2 separate regions of the Homo sapiens genome follow, and region 2 is linked to region 1. The links are contacts of gene promoters, found by promoter capture Hi-C in blood cells and fetal thymus (Javierre and others, 2016). All regions are on one chromosome and are shown on one strand. Each heading gives the region's core, a stretch centred on a gene start or on the middle of the fragment in contact. The rest is flanking DNA. Distances are from core to core; before and after follow the strand shown.

Evidence for each region. Contacts are between HindIII fragments. The CHiCAGO score rates a contact against its expected background, and 5 or more counts as called.
Region 2: a fragment that was not itself captured here is called in contact with the fragment with the promoter of PLPPR4 in region 1 in 1 of 17 cell types (naive CD8 T cells); the score reaches 5.1 in naive CD8 T cells.

The regions. Positions count from the first base shown.
Region 1 is chr1:99,261,211-99,268,690 of GRCh38, reverse strand. PLPPR4 (phospholipid phosphatase related 4) reads right to left here and starts at 4,199. Exons shown (of 7, transcript NM_014839.5): 1 at 4,020-4,199. The coding sequence starts at 4,097. The HindIII fragment of the contact is 14,890 bases long and covers 1-7,348 here.
Region 2 is chr1:98,692,495-98,699,974 of GRCh38, reverse strand. SNX7 (sorting nexin 7) reads right to left here. Exons shown (of 9, transcript NM_015976.5): 5 at 4,259-4,457; 6 at 1,070-1,269. Among named protein-coding and RNA genes, the nearest start is that of SNX7, 35 kb to the right of the region's middle. The HindIII fragment of the contact is 6,000 bases long and covers 100-6,099 here.

The sequences.
Region 1 (7,480 bases), core at 2,950-5,449:
GAGTTAAGAAACTTGCTCATAAAATGAGGTGCAAAACTAAAAATCATCGTATTTTTCAAGTCACCATCTAATATTACTGTCAACCATAAGCCATTTCATTAGCAAGCAGCAGCATAAACCAAAAATGTAAGAAAAAAATAATTCTATCCCTAAATTCTATCCCTTCAACTAATGTGTGCTTTAACATCAGGTATCGTGGTGAACAAGGACAAGATTACTTGGTTTTAGTGGCTGAACACCAACACCTCAGCCTAATGCCCATTGGGGTATAATTAGAGATACCTTGACACTCTGCAAATGGGCTGCCAACATCTTTACTCCTTCCTTGCATCTATCCAGAGTTCTTGTTGAGGGGCACTAGCCACTAACTGATGAGCCAATGTGGGGAGTATGCACTGTCCTCCAACTCTTTGTGCTTGGACACTCCCAGTGGAGGAGGAACTGAGCTGAGGAAGCTGATCTGTTGCCAGAGAAAACTGTATCACCCTGTTTGTCAGTGTGCCCTTGCCTTACTACATCTTCCTTTTTTACCAGTGAGAAACAATAGAAAGTAACTTTGCCTATGTGAATGTTCTTTCAACAAGTTGAGAGAGATTGTTATTGCAGTGGTGAAGAGCGTGACCTTTGAGTTAATACCCAGCCCTGCCTCTAACTTTGCTTTATAAAATTGGGCAAGTTGTTTAACTTTTATGAGTTTCAGTTTCTTCTTCAAAACACAGATAATAATGGCCTCTTTCTTAAAGAGAAACTTTGAAGATTGAACAACATGGTGGATGTAAAGCATTTAGCTTTATTGTTAGTACATACTAAGTACTTTATAAATGGTTGTCATTATTCTTGTACAAACTGTAAATAGTACTTCACTCTCCCCATTTGTGTCAATTAATACAAGTCCATTTCAAGAAGCCTGTGGAGCCCAAACTATTTCTAGAAATTGGGGAGAAGATGACTTCTTCTCAACAATGGGAACTCTTAAGCTAGACCTTGTCAGGACTTGATCCCTTAAGTCCAAACTATAAGTAAAATAATTTATTTCAGGTCAAGAACAGTTATAAGAAAGGAAAGGAACTAACATATCTTGATTGCCTACCATATCTCAGTCATGATCCTTTAACCTCATAATATATTCAATATTCTAAGATGTAGGTATAATAATTTCTCTTATGTATGAATACAGGTGTATTTATATTTATATTATGTAAATTCTATTATATGTGAAGAAACTAAGGATGAGAGAAGTAACTTGGCCAGAATTATTCATGTAGTATCTGGCAAAGGCGGTGTTTGAACCAAGTCAATCTGTCTGCAAGGCCCAGGATTTTCCTAGAGCATGCTGCCATTTTCCTGACACAACTCAGTCCATCTTGATTTCAGCCCCCTCTGGCTCGAGTGTAAGTTTCCCTTCCCTCATTTTCCCAATTAAAGTTTCTTCACATCTCATACCTATCATGAATTAGTAATTTAAAACTTCTAAACTCCTTGAAAAAAGGCAAAGTGTAAGTTGCTCATGGTGTCACTGACTTGAGAACCAGGGACTGTTTTCTCCTGAGATCTGTTTTGTTAGCCTCTTCTTGTTACTTAAATTATGGTTTGAGTAACAGAGAAGGCTAAAAATATATGCTTTAGACTGATATGTGATGGAAGGAGATTCACTCATGTTTCACTTTTCCATCTTAATTTCTAAGGTCTTGGGAAACTATGCTGTAAAGCAAAGTGTCATTACTCTAGAGCATTTTACTAACATGCAAATTCCAGCTATGTTTATTCATCCTACGAAGGAGATGTAAATTTAGTGCATTCTCACCAGCTTCAAAATGAGTCATTTCAAAGGAGCGTGATAGTGCATGTGGTCAAACCCTTAAATAATTTTTATACTAATGCAGTCTCCCATTTTCTGGAGGCTCTTTAGTGGTTCATCATGCATTTAATTTTTAGGAAGATAATTTGCAATCCAATTGTGTGGCTCTGTCTTTGAAGTCTGTTAACCCCAAGATACAGTGTCATCAATGCTCATTTAAACTCCATGAATTGTGTTCAAGTAATTGTTCTACAGCTTGCCCTGCTAAGGAATTCATAGAGGGTATCTGAATAGGCCAAAGTAAAAGTAATGAATCTGGGCTATTTCCACTCATGGAAAAGAAGTAACAATTGTGAGATGTCTGTTCCTAAACACACAATTCAATTGCATTATGAGGCACTTGTACTTTTAAAATTCTTGCTTAAGGGACATGTACTCCGGTTAAAGATGCCTCAAAAGCGCCCACGTACATTCTGTAAAGGCACATCCTTAATTCTCTGGTTTGCCTCCTCTTTCATGAGGGCATTTTCCTTGAAGCCATATAGCTGCAACCCACATGTAGTCAGCTTCTAGCTGACCTCAGGTGTGTTCCTTCCTGGAGATGGAACTCAGCCATTAACTGATTTCTCCTAGACAAATGTCATTGATTCAGACACAAATGAAATCACTATAATACAAAACTACACGGATTAGCCATGCGACAAGTGGTCTGATGGATTGAACTTGAAGGCAGGTATCTCATCTTTCTATTCCTTCACCATTTTCATCATGGAATCTTCTGCTACCTACATTTTTCTTGAGAAAGCTCTTTATTATCTTTCAACAAAAATTACCTAAACCATGTTCCCAAAAATCTCTTGTGAAAAGAGAAAGGATAATAAATGGATTCATTATTTTAAATACATAGATTTTTTTTTCTTCTTTTCTATGGTTCATGAATGCAGGGGTCACCCATCATTTCTCTGAAAGTTATGCAAGTCACATACATCTTTCTTGAAACTGAAATTATTTAAAAAATCTATGACACTTCTACAAAACTTCCAAATATATTGTTACCTATAAGAACAGTCCGACAATGTCTCTTCTCCCAAGTTTCAAGGCAGTGACTATTCCTCAGGACAGATAAGCCTTACAATCATTGAATACAGAATCTACTGTTTGCACTTCGAAGGGCTAAACCTCCATATTTGGCTGAAAAGATGGCCAGAGAAGGATATTTATGATTCAGCAACAGTCTTATAATTCTCTATGCAACCCAGACTCTAACTAAACAGAATATAGTTTTGTGCCTAAAACCATCTGATTTCCCTAAATCTATGCAATACAACCCTTCAGTATCTGTAATTTAATAAACCTCTTGCTTAAAAATGTCTTCCTAATGCAATGGAGCACAGTACACGGAATCACTGTATCTGCCAATCTTTATAACACTCCTATGAATTGTTTCTCCCTCAAATACTGCATTTTGGTAAGTTAGAGGGTCATTACGGATACATCTGCATTTAATTGTTTATCTATAATACTGCTCAGCACAGTAAATACTCAGATACAAATCATGTAAAATCAGATGATGTCATAGATTTAAAATATTATATATAGTTATGTATACACACATATATAATATGTATTTTTTACTGTGGAAAGAGGCCAGTACATTGATGATTGATGTTTAGAGATGCAGATCCAATTTCAGAAGCGTATGTGAGCACCAAAATAATATAATAGGAGAAGGATTTGGGGGGGGGGGGCAGGAGCAATAAAAGCAATTAACAATATTTGTACTATGTAAACACCTTCAACCCTCATATGCCCTAGGCATAGCTGTGTGCACACGGAGTTCCCGACACGTACTCGGCAGGTTGAAGACACAAATCCCGAAATATGGGCATCATGGCCCCTCTGGGGCACTAGCGGACGTTGTGCACACAGGCACTACAGGAGGGCCAAGGAACTAAAACCACACTCACTCACACAGGTATCCGTTCCCTGCAGGCCACCCAGCAGCGACACCTCTAATGGTAATCACCCCGGGCTGACAGGTATTCACAGGCACATTCGGGGAGCTGCTGTGAAATCTAGGGGAAGAGGGGAGGGTCGGGCATTTGGGGACAGCCGCGCGCGCCCGGCAGGATCTCTGCGCCTCCAACACTGTCCAGGACCTGAATTCGCTCAGGAGATGCCCAGAGGATCTGCATTATGCCAAGGCACTGGGCCAACTCACCTCGACGAAATAAAAGCAGGGCAGGAGGGTGACGCTGTCCTTGATCACTTTGCCCTTTGGCCTCTCCTTCGCCGACATCCCTGCCGCCTGCCCGGGTCTGCGTCCTCCCCCGGGCGAGGTGTGCACAGCGCAGCTGAGGCGAGCTGCCTCCTCCAGCCCCAAGCGCCCGGCGCCGCTGATGTCACATTCCCCGCGGCCACCGCTGGAGCCAGCGCGCTGCATGCAGCGCCCCCGCCTTCTCCCCGCCCCTTTTTGCAGCAACCCAGCTATTCCCTGAGCGGGCCAGTCCTCTTCCTCCCCTAGTCTGGCTCCTGCTCCCCGTTTTTCTGGCGAGAGACGACGTCCAGCTCCCTCCTCCAAGCTGTTGCTGCAATGGCTTCCCCTCCCTGTCACCCTCCCTCAGCTCTCTACCGCCCTTGCGACGCTCCAAGGCTGTCGGAGCTTGACGTCAAGAATCCGAAAAGGAGGACGCACTCCTGGTTTCTGCAGTAGTTAGGCTGAGGAGCTAAGCCACCTAGTCTCCTCCTGGGGAGCCTCCTAGGTCACTCTAGGAATGCTATTAAAGAATGCTAAGGATCAGAAGCCCTGCTCCAGCGCGCTGACCCATAGCAAGAAAACCAACCCCTACCTCCACGAAATGAGATCTTGGATCCCATACTGAAAAGTAGGCTGAGGTAGGCATTAACTGACAGCTTGTTGCTACCCAGGAATGACAGCTCCTACGGGGGATTCTCTGCCTAGGAGACTCCTTATCTCCCTTCCATATCGAAGCACCCACTAACAAACACTACCGGTTGTGTGGGAATGATGTGGGTTCCTTGCATCCAGAGAGGCAGATGTGTGAATGCACAGGTAATGGGCATCCTCATTGAGCCCAGAGGCTACTGTATGTTCTAATCTCACTGTCACACCCCCAGAACAGTGTCAGTATTGCAATCATAACAGTAAAAAGAAGTATGTCTTCAGATATTAATAATCTAAAGTCCTTCATCTTGTTGGCAGTATACATGGCTAGTCTCAATTTTGTGATTACTTTGGCAACCAGAAGTATCAAGTTGATATAGAAGAGAGAAAGACCCAGCAAACACGAGACATGATATTATACTAATAAAGATGACCTAATTTTGTGATCACATGTCCCAGGCCATTTCCAATATCTCCAAGTCTCCATTTCAAGCATGTGATGGCCAATTCCCAACTCATTTATCCATTTCCCTTTTTTAGTTGCTCCTCCAATAGGTCTTTGGCAGTATGGGACCATCCTATCTAATAATATACTCATTTCACTGCCAACACCACCTCTTGCCCCCACTTTCTTCTGCCAGGCTTGGGTTCCAAAGTCTAGCAATATAATTGCTTGTTTCCGCCTCCCAATTTGCCATACTCACCTGATAATATCCCGGCTTAGTTGAACCCAATTCTCTGCCCTTACCAGAGCAACTGAAAGTGGCTGGAGAAAAACACACAACCGCATGATGCTGTCTCACATCCAACTCATGACCACAAACTCCAAGTAGGTCCTGGAGTTGCCCCCACGATTCTATAATTTTTTCTGTCCAGCCATTTTCCCATTCACAACTTCTCACTTCTCAAATCTCCTCATTCTCAGTTCATGACATTAACTCTTATTTCACTTAGAAAATAGAAGTAATCAGAAGAGAACTACATCTTCTTCCTAAACTCAGTGCTTGCCCTCACCCCCCACCACACACAGCGACCGCCATCTCTTGCCTAGACTGGAATAACCTAACGGCCTTCTAACTGTTCTACCAGCTTTTGCATTTGCCATTCCCACAACCTACAAACCATTCCCTACGCAGCAGCCAGAAAGGTCCTTTGGAAAGTAAACCCAATTGTTTTATTCCCCTACCCAAACCCTCCAAGAGCTCTCTTCCACTTCAATGGAAAGTCCAAACTTCCCGTCTCTTCCTTAAAGCCCTGCCTGGCCACCTTGCCTGGTTCTAGGACCTCATTCACATCACTTTGCACCTCAATGGTCTGGCCGTTCCAGCCTAGCCTTTCACTGCCTCAGGAGCTTTGTACTTACTGTTCCTTTGTCCAAGAACTCTGTTCCGCCAAAATTGCATGGCTTAACCCCTCATTTAATTCATATCTCTGCACAAATTTTAACTCCTCAGGGAAGTTGTGTTTGATGCACCGAGTAGATTCATAATCTCAGACCTCTGTTACTCTTTATTCTTTTATACTATTTTATTTTCCTTCATAGAATTTGTCACCATTTGATAGTATATCAAGTATTTCTGTGTCCTTTTTTATCTTGTCTGCCTCACCCACTAGTGAACTCTGTAAAGTCAAGCACATTTTCATTATTATGTTTTCTGGTAACTACAAGTGTGCCTGGCAAAGAGTAGGTTGTCAGTACATAGTGAAGAAATAAATGGAACAATAAAATTAAGTGATGCTTATATAACCGTATAGCATAGTTTTTCACATAGTATATGTTCATTAAGTGCTTGTTGATTCTGTTTAACTATTACATTAATCAGTAGTTATACTTTTCATTACTACCAATGTTACTTTGTCTTGTGGAGGGGGTGGGTACTGGAGCCCTTTCTTTTTTCAACCTTCTTGGTACCTCAAGAAAATTTACAATTTTTGGTGAGGTAAAAAATAAGCTAGAACATATTAAACTTAAGAGAGATGTTATCATCCTGGAAACTCAGTGTTTTTATTTGAGAAGAGGTGAAATATAAGACTAAACCTATACCCACCTAATTTCAATAGCAAAAAAACCTGAAGGTATGTGATAAAATATCAGAGATGTATGCTGACCATACATCAACAATTCAACAAATTGTCAAAACATCAGAAAGGTACTCTTTTTTTCCTCCCTAGCTGGTCTGCCCAGATTGACCTGCTCACATTGTCAAGGATCAGGAAATGTTTCAGAATTCAAAGCCAATACTTATTGTAAATCCTTTATCTTTCATTAGGTCAGATTCTCCTTCCTTCTGTCTCTCTTCTTTTGAATTTTATTTTTCTAATATATAGCATTTCATAAAACAATCAAGCTAAAGATTCCCTTAAATACTAAACACCATAGTAATGTCTTACATTGGGGTAACAGTTTGATATATATTACCTACTTTCACTTTTGGTACTCAAAACAATGCAATGAAGTGAACAGGGCAAATGATTTCCCTATTTTATAAAAAAAATCAGTAGACAGAACTCAGAGATAGAATAAATAAATAGAAAAATTTGAACCAAAACAGAATAAAATTTGGAGTCAGAAGACATGAACTTGAGCTCAGGATTTGTAATGTTTGAACTCTGCTCATAAGCAAATCACTTAGTATCTCCAAGCTTTAGTTTTCTATTATGTAAAATGAGAAGAGTACTGGTACTATCTGACAACAATGCCTGGTAGCTTAATTGTGACGATATATGTGAAAGCACTTGGTGAAATGTAAAACTGACTCATCCATTCATCAGTCCAT
Region 2 (7,480 bases), core at 1,850-4,349, 570 kb after region 1:
ATGAAGTGAAACCAAAGGATGTAGCCAAGGAAATGGATAGAGAGAGGAAAGAGAATCATCAACAGTGAAACATCGAAGGCTTTTGGGAAGCAAGAAGCTTTGTTTACAGGAGGACTCCAATAAAGTTAAGTACAGCCAAAGCCTGAAATGTCTGTGCAATATTTAATGACTCTGTCAAACTAAACCTAAACATGATCAACAAGAGAGAGGCAGATCTCATGCTGAAACACAAAGTGAGCTTTTCAGACCAAAACAAGGAAAAGTTTTTAAAAAAGAAAAAAATTGAAAGAAATCTCTAGAAATCAAGGGTACATGTCCAAAGAAACCATGGTTCCAATTATAAAGAACGGAAAAAAGGAGCTGTATCTGAATGCAAGCTGACTCCTGTCCCCATCACCACCCTAAAACACTGAGGGTGCCAATTTGCCTGTGTAAAGTATTGTAGGCACAGAAAAATACTGGATGAAAAATATTAGCTTTGCAGATAGCATTGCTAAATTCCAAATATCTGGAAACCTTAACTTGAACTGAGGAAGTAAAATGCAAAACTTTGATATAAGAGGAATAAAAGCCTTTTCAAGTAGTGAAAGAAAAACATTTTAACTTGAAAGATTTCTTTTAAAAGCAACCAGAAGGCAGAACATCAAGATCCAACTCAAGTACTTTCTACATAATGGTACTAAATATATTGCTAAATCAAATGTACCTAGAAGCAGGAGAGCAGTTCTTTCAAAATCCCCAAAGCACTAAAAAATTTTAAAGTAAAATTTCACAAGGTTTGGAAAAACTAATCATATTCCCTATGTAAATTTTGATTGAGGATGCTTCAAGTCTACGTATAATCTGATAAATTGTTGGTGTTGCTATTGAGTATTCCTGCTTTTTAACAACGGATTCTTTCCTTCATCTATTTAGACACACAGTGAATAAATATTTATTGAACATCTACATGCAAAACAACCTGCTAGGACAAAAAGATAGTGGTTTTAAAGAAAAGAAATACAGTTGCCTTTATGGAGCTTATAATCAGGTAAGGGACTGAGGTAAAATTAGAATTAGGTGTTCTTACCATTAACATTTCACTATAAAGCACGTACTCATGTACAACAGGAAGCAGGGCCTCTGAGAGTCCAGACATCCGCTTTTCAGTGGCCTTACAGCATCTGTCAATGCAGCTGGCAACATCCTTTAGAGTATCAACCAGATCCTCTTCTGACGCTGACCACAGAATATGAATTGGGCCATATTCTTTCATTTCATCAAAATATTCTAAAAAAAAAAAAAGACTTAATAAGCTCTTCAATAAACAAAAGTTTTCAAAATACCTGTATCCTAGAGAGTAAGAAAGGGCCTTATTTCTCTCACAGTGCACATGTTCTTACACAAGAACATAAGAAAACGGATATCATCCTTCATTAAATCAACCAGCCATCACAGTTTGCCCCAGGTCAGTCTTTGAATGACTACTGTCCAAGTGTAATCAATAATAACATACCTTTTCAGTGTCAAAAATGTCTTGGCTTGAAAAATAAATTATATGACCATCATATCTATTTAGGCTTCTGCCTACCACACAACTATATCTGAGTACCTGACAGGCAACATGCCCTGAAAAAAACTTAGCATCTTCTTTCTCCCCTTCTTCTGACTATATATTCTACTTAGTGGTAATTACTATCCATAAATCTAAGCAAAAAATTGGGAGGTTATCCTAGAATCATACTTACACAGAGCCAGTAAATCACCAATTCCAAAACTTCGAGATCTTAAACTATCCATCTACCTATGTACTTATCTTCACTTCCACCACCATCAGCATCTCTAATCTGTACTGCTTCAAGGGTCTCCTAACTATTCTCCCTCTATTTTTATCAGAGTATAGAAACATTGACTCTTTGTAGCTAAATTAGAATTAGTTAAATTAAATTAGTTAAATTAGTCCTCACCGTCTGCTTCTCCAGGTCCAATGTGAAATTCTCTGCCAAAGATTTTAACTCAAGCCAAATTGCTTGTTCATTCATGAATAACCCATGATTTCTCTTTACAAAAACATTTGCACATGTCCCTCTGCCTTGTCCTCCATTTCTATCACCTGACAAACTACTTCTAATCCTTTAAATTCCAGTTCAAATAAATCTCCTCTGATTCTGTTCCAAAGGATTCATAGATGCTTTGGCCCTCAATGAGCTTATCATAATTTTATACTTCTATTAAAGCATTATCCCACTGTATTATAGATGTCTTATAACTCAAATGCTCTTGGCCACATACTCCTTAAAACAGGGACTGAGTCTTATTATTTTTCTATCTCAAACCCTTATATGTAATGAGTTCAATAAATATTTTCATATCAATGAAAGAATGCATACATGAGTAACCAAAGACCATTCAGTGTTTGATACGCTATGTATTCAAAAATTTTTGGATTTCATTTTAAAATGTGACTGTCTTTACAATTTTACATTCTTACTTTCACACTTAATTTTCAATGATGTATAGCTTTTTGTGGTGGAAAATTTATAAGCAGTGACCGTTTTTTGTTCACTATCCATATAAATACAATCAAATTATCTATATTTAACCATCTTACAACTCATTAGGGTTTGCTGATATCTGTCATATTTCTCTAAACTACTAAAACTTTAAAAGTCTGTATTAAATAAAAAGTTTAAAAATATGAAATTTAAAAACAATGGAGATACTAGTTGTTATGTAATGAACATTTAATCACCTCTGTAGTCCTTCCAAACTCCACCTTCCTGATCCTAGGCCTGTCTTTATGTTAAATAATGACCATACTGAACTAATTTCTGGAAAAGAAAATTTTCCACTTTCTTTTCTCAATTGAGTCAATTGAGAAATCTCAAATTTCTCATTTTCTCAATATATGTCAATGTCAGTCATTAAACCTGAACAATATTTATGTTTATATGCAAAGCTGCCCTAAAATTCTAAACTGTGCTTACATACCACTCAAATCAATCTGTATGCAAACATTTAGTTAGCTGCACTGTAATTTATCTGTTAATATACATATTTCCCAACTAGACTGTGAGCTTAACAGGTACCATCTTAATTACTCTTTGATACTCATTGATAGTTTATAAAGCTCTTAACTACCAATAGTTTCCAGACATCTCTTTGAATTGCCATACCACCTAACTATGCATCCAGAATCTACTTAATAGAACTGGAATCACAGAACCTAGTTAAAATAATTCACTTATTCAGGTTAAAAAAAAAAGACAAATAATAAATGTAAGGGCAAACCAAAGAGGTTTAAAATAAATTATTATACTACATTCAGTCACTACAGTAATCTCATCAGGGGTCAATGCATGAAAAAAAGTTAGAAAAGGGGCAAAGTACATGCAGTTATAATTTTTTTCTATATCTCTTTTTAAAACCAATCAATTCTTAATAAAGCACCTTTTCCTACACCATTCCAAATCTTATGTTCATTCGTGGTTTTTTTTCAATCACTGAACAAATTTTAATTAAGTACTTATTATGTTTAAACACTGCCCGGATACTAGAAATAAGATATTTCCCAGCTTATCCTGACTGGCAGTACAGTTAAGTAGAGGTCAATTAACAAATAAGCCATCAACTTAGGAACTTTTGTTTGTCTTTATGTAGTTCCTCATCTCTAATAACAAATTATATTAGGAAATTATTTGCTGACTCAGTTATCTATTTTTTAATGTAAGTAAATGCAATTAGAAAATTAGGGGAAAAAATCATCACGTGATTAGAATTAGAAAAAAATTCACCAACAATTCTGATTTATAAACTAAAAAAAAAAAAGAAAATAGGAAAAGAGGCAGATTTTCCAATACGTAAATCTCTCTGCCATACTTCGACAGGTTTAATACAGAGTATCTGTTCCCTCCAGAAAAAAATAATTACCAGAAAATATGAAAACCCTATTTCCTGAAACATCACTTCTTTGATTCTGAGCTCTGTTCCATGTTGAATACAAACAACCACATCCACAATCTTTAACTCGGGCTTACTTTACCACTATTATCTATGAATGGGAAGTAGAGCAGCTAGTGATTGATAAAAGTGAAAATGGAGACTGGCCATAACTACCTTCGAAATCATTTAGGAATCAGAAATGTCCATAAGATGGCTAGGAATAAGCCACACTTTGAAGCTGACATTCTAACTGAATGTTGCTATATTACACCAACAAATGTGAAGATTCATCAGAAACTGAACAACTTTGAAATCACATTTCAGTAATTCTACTTACCCCTTTCTTCCTTATAAATTCTCTGAGATATTTTATCTATCAAATTTATTTTCTGGCTAAATAGTTCAATAAAGTTATTCATTTCCATGAACTCCTCTGGGCGGTTTTTAACTCCTCTCATTGAGGACGCAACAGCTCTGACGGTTTGCCCCATCCTGCTTAGCAAGCCAGGACCTTGCTTCTTGTGAGAAGAGAGTTCCTAGAAACAAAAAACCAAGTATTTCTAGTGAAACAAGTCTCAATATTCCGAGACTCAATACAAAAATAAACCTAATTAGGAGAATAAAATCAAGATAAAATGGTTTCATAGGCATCAATCTTTTTTAATGTTAGCTTGAAGCAGATGAGCTTTATTAAGGTACAGTGTTTCCTCTAAGTGGCAGCCTCAATAATATTCCCTTTCACACTACTCATGTAAAACAGGTATATAGTCTTTCCTCAGACCGTAAATCTTTAAAAGAACAGGGTTTAACCGACAGAATAGTGCTCAATGAGATACTAGAGGAGATAAGGATAATATGACATACCATCTATATTTTATAATAGGAATTTAATGGAAAATGATTGAGAGAAGATTTCTCAGGGCCTAAGTTATACTCCAAAAAATAAAATTGGAAAACTTCATTAATTCTTTAGATGTAATAGTAGCTAACATTTATTTAGAGCTTAATACATTCTGGGCACTATACTGACATTTTAATACACGTAATTCACCATAAACCTATGAGGTAGGTTTTATTATTTTCCTCATTTTACAGAAGAAAATAGAGGCACAGGAAAGTTAACTAACTTGCTCAAGATCCCAGAGCAGGCCGGGTGCAGTGGCTCACGTCCGTAATCCCAGTACTTTGGGAGGCCGAGGAGGGCATACATGAGGTCAGGAGATCGAGACTACCCTGGCTAACACGGTGAAACTCCCTCTCTACTAAAAATACAAAAAAATTAGCCTGGCGTGGTGGCAGGTGCCTGTAGTCCCAGCTACTTGGGAGGCTGAGGCAGGAGAATGGCGTGAACCCAGGAGGCAGAGGTTGCAGTGAGCCGAGATCATGCCACTGCACTCCAGCCTGAGCCACAGAGCGAGACTCCATCTCAAAAAAAAAAAAAAAAAAAAAAAAAAAAATCCCAGAGCAATTAAGTGGTAGAGCAAGAACTGGAATCCTGGAAGTCTGATTCCAGAGGCTTCATTATTAAGCACCAACTTGCTCTGCCCGCTTAAAGTCATTAGGATGGTTTGTAAATAGATACTACCTGAACATAGCACTTCAGCCAAATGAAGTGGGTAAACAGTGACACCACCTTCACCAACTGGCTGTCTACAGAGAAAACTTTTTTTTTTTTTTTTTTTTTGAGACGGAGTCTCGCTCTTTCGCCCAGGCTGGACTGCAGTGGCACAATCCTGGCTCACTGCAAGCTCCGCCTCCCGGGTTCATGCCATTCTCCTGCCTCAGCCTCCTGAGTAGCTGGGATTACAGGTGCCCACCACCGCGCCCGGCTAATTTTTTGTATTTTTAGTAGAGACGGGGTTTCACCGTGTTAGCCAAGATGGTCTCGATCTCCTGACCTTGTGATCCGCCCGCCTCGGCCTCCCAAAGTGCTGGGATTACAGGCGTGAGCCACCGCGCCCAGCTGAGAAAACTTGTAATAAGATACGAAACTAGTTATTTCATACTTAACCTAGGAGGGACGACTATAGACTTGCAAAATAGAAAACATCCTATAAAAGAATATACTGCACAGAAACATATCCCTTGAGAAGTATGGCATAAGTTAAAAGAACAAATACAAACAAAAAAGGACAAGGGATTTTAATAATCATTGTGGCCCTTGTTGAGACACAAGCTTGGGATCGAATAAAATATATGATCAAATAAAATACTGCTGACTACCTAATTTACAGATAAAAATATTATATATTATTTACCCAAATATTAAATAACACATTGTCTATCTTCCTTCAGGTTTTCATTCCTGAATATCTTGCAGAATACATACAAAGTAAACTTGTTTATTTCCAATTCTGTGTGATTTCTTTTGTGCCAATAATAACAGATGCCATCCTTGACCAGGCAATACATCCATCCAAGAGTGCTACAGCCTCATTTGATAGAGTAAACATTATCAGAGACAGCTCACGTCACAACTGGCAAGCTGTTACTGAAACTGTTGACTGTAGAAAATATTTCTAACAGCTTCTAAGGTTCTGAAGTCAGGCCGCATATTCATTTCACATAAGTCACAAAGGGCTTCCATAGAGGACTATCTGTCAAGATTGAAATGAACCACTTTTTAGCTTCTACCACTGGCAACAACTGAGAGATATAAAACTCAACATTTGCCAGTAACTGTTTAATATTGACCCTTTGTCCTGTCTGGTATCTTTCTTGCAGAGTTATAGCTTTATAGAATAAAAGAAAAAACAAGTAGAATGGATAAGGTTTCTGTATTAGAAATTAGACACTCCCCCACTTAGATAATTAAAGGAAAAGTAAGGAGATTATATTATCTATCTGTCCGTCCATCCATCCATCCATCCATCCATCCATCTCCATTCATCCATCTACCCATTTAATAAGGACTTTTATCCTAACTTAAAAAGCCCTGATCCATTATTACTCAAAATAAAGTAGACCCTTGAACAACACAGGTGTGAGCTAAGCAGGTCCACACATGTGGACTTTTTTCAATAAATATACTGGAAAATTTTTTGGAGATTTGTGACAACTAAAAAAACCTCACAAACCACATAGTCCAGAAATGTAGAAAAAACTGAGAGAAAGGTATGTCATGAATCCACAAAATGTATGTGGATACTAGTCTATCATTTACTACCCTAAAATGTGTATAAATCTATTATAAAAAGTTAAAATTTATCAAAACGTATGCACATATTTTGACTTACATGCCACCATATGCAGTTGAGAGAAATGTAAACAAACATAAAGATGCAGTATTAAATCAAAACTGCTTAAAATTAACTACACTACACACTGTACTATTGTACTATTTTTGTAGCCCTCCTGTTGCTATTTGTGGTGAGCTCCAGTGTTGTGAATATCTGCTTAAAATGCCATGTGACGCTGATCATCTCCATGTGAGTAGTTCATCTCTCCATTAAATTGGGTGTAGCAGTAAAAAGTGATCTCTTGTGGTTCCCATGTATTTTTTTTATTGTGTTTAGTGCAATACTATAAACCTGAAATAATACCATGGGACCCATATGAA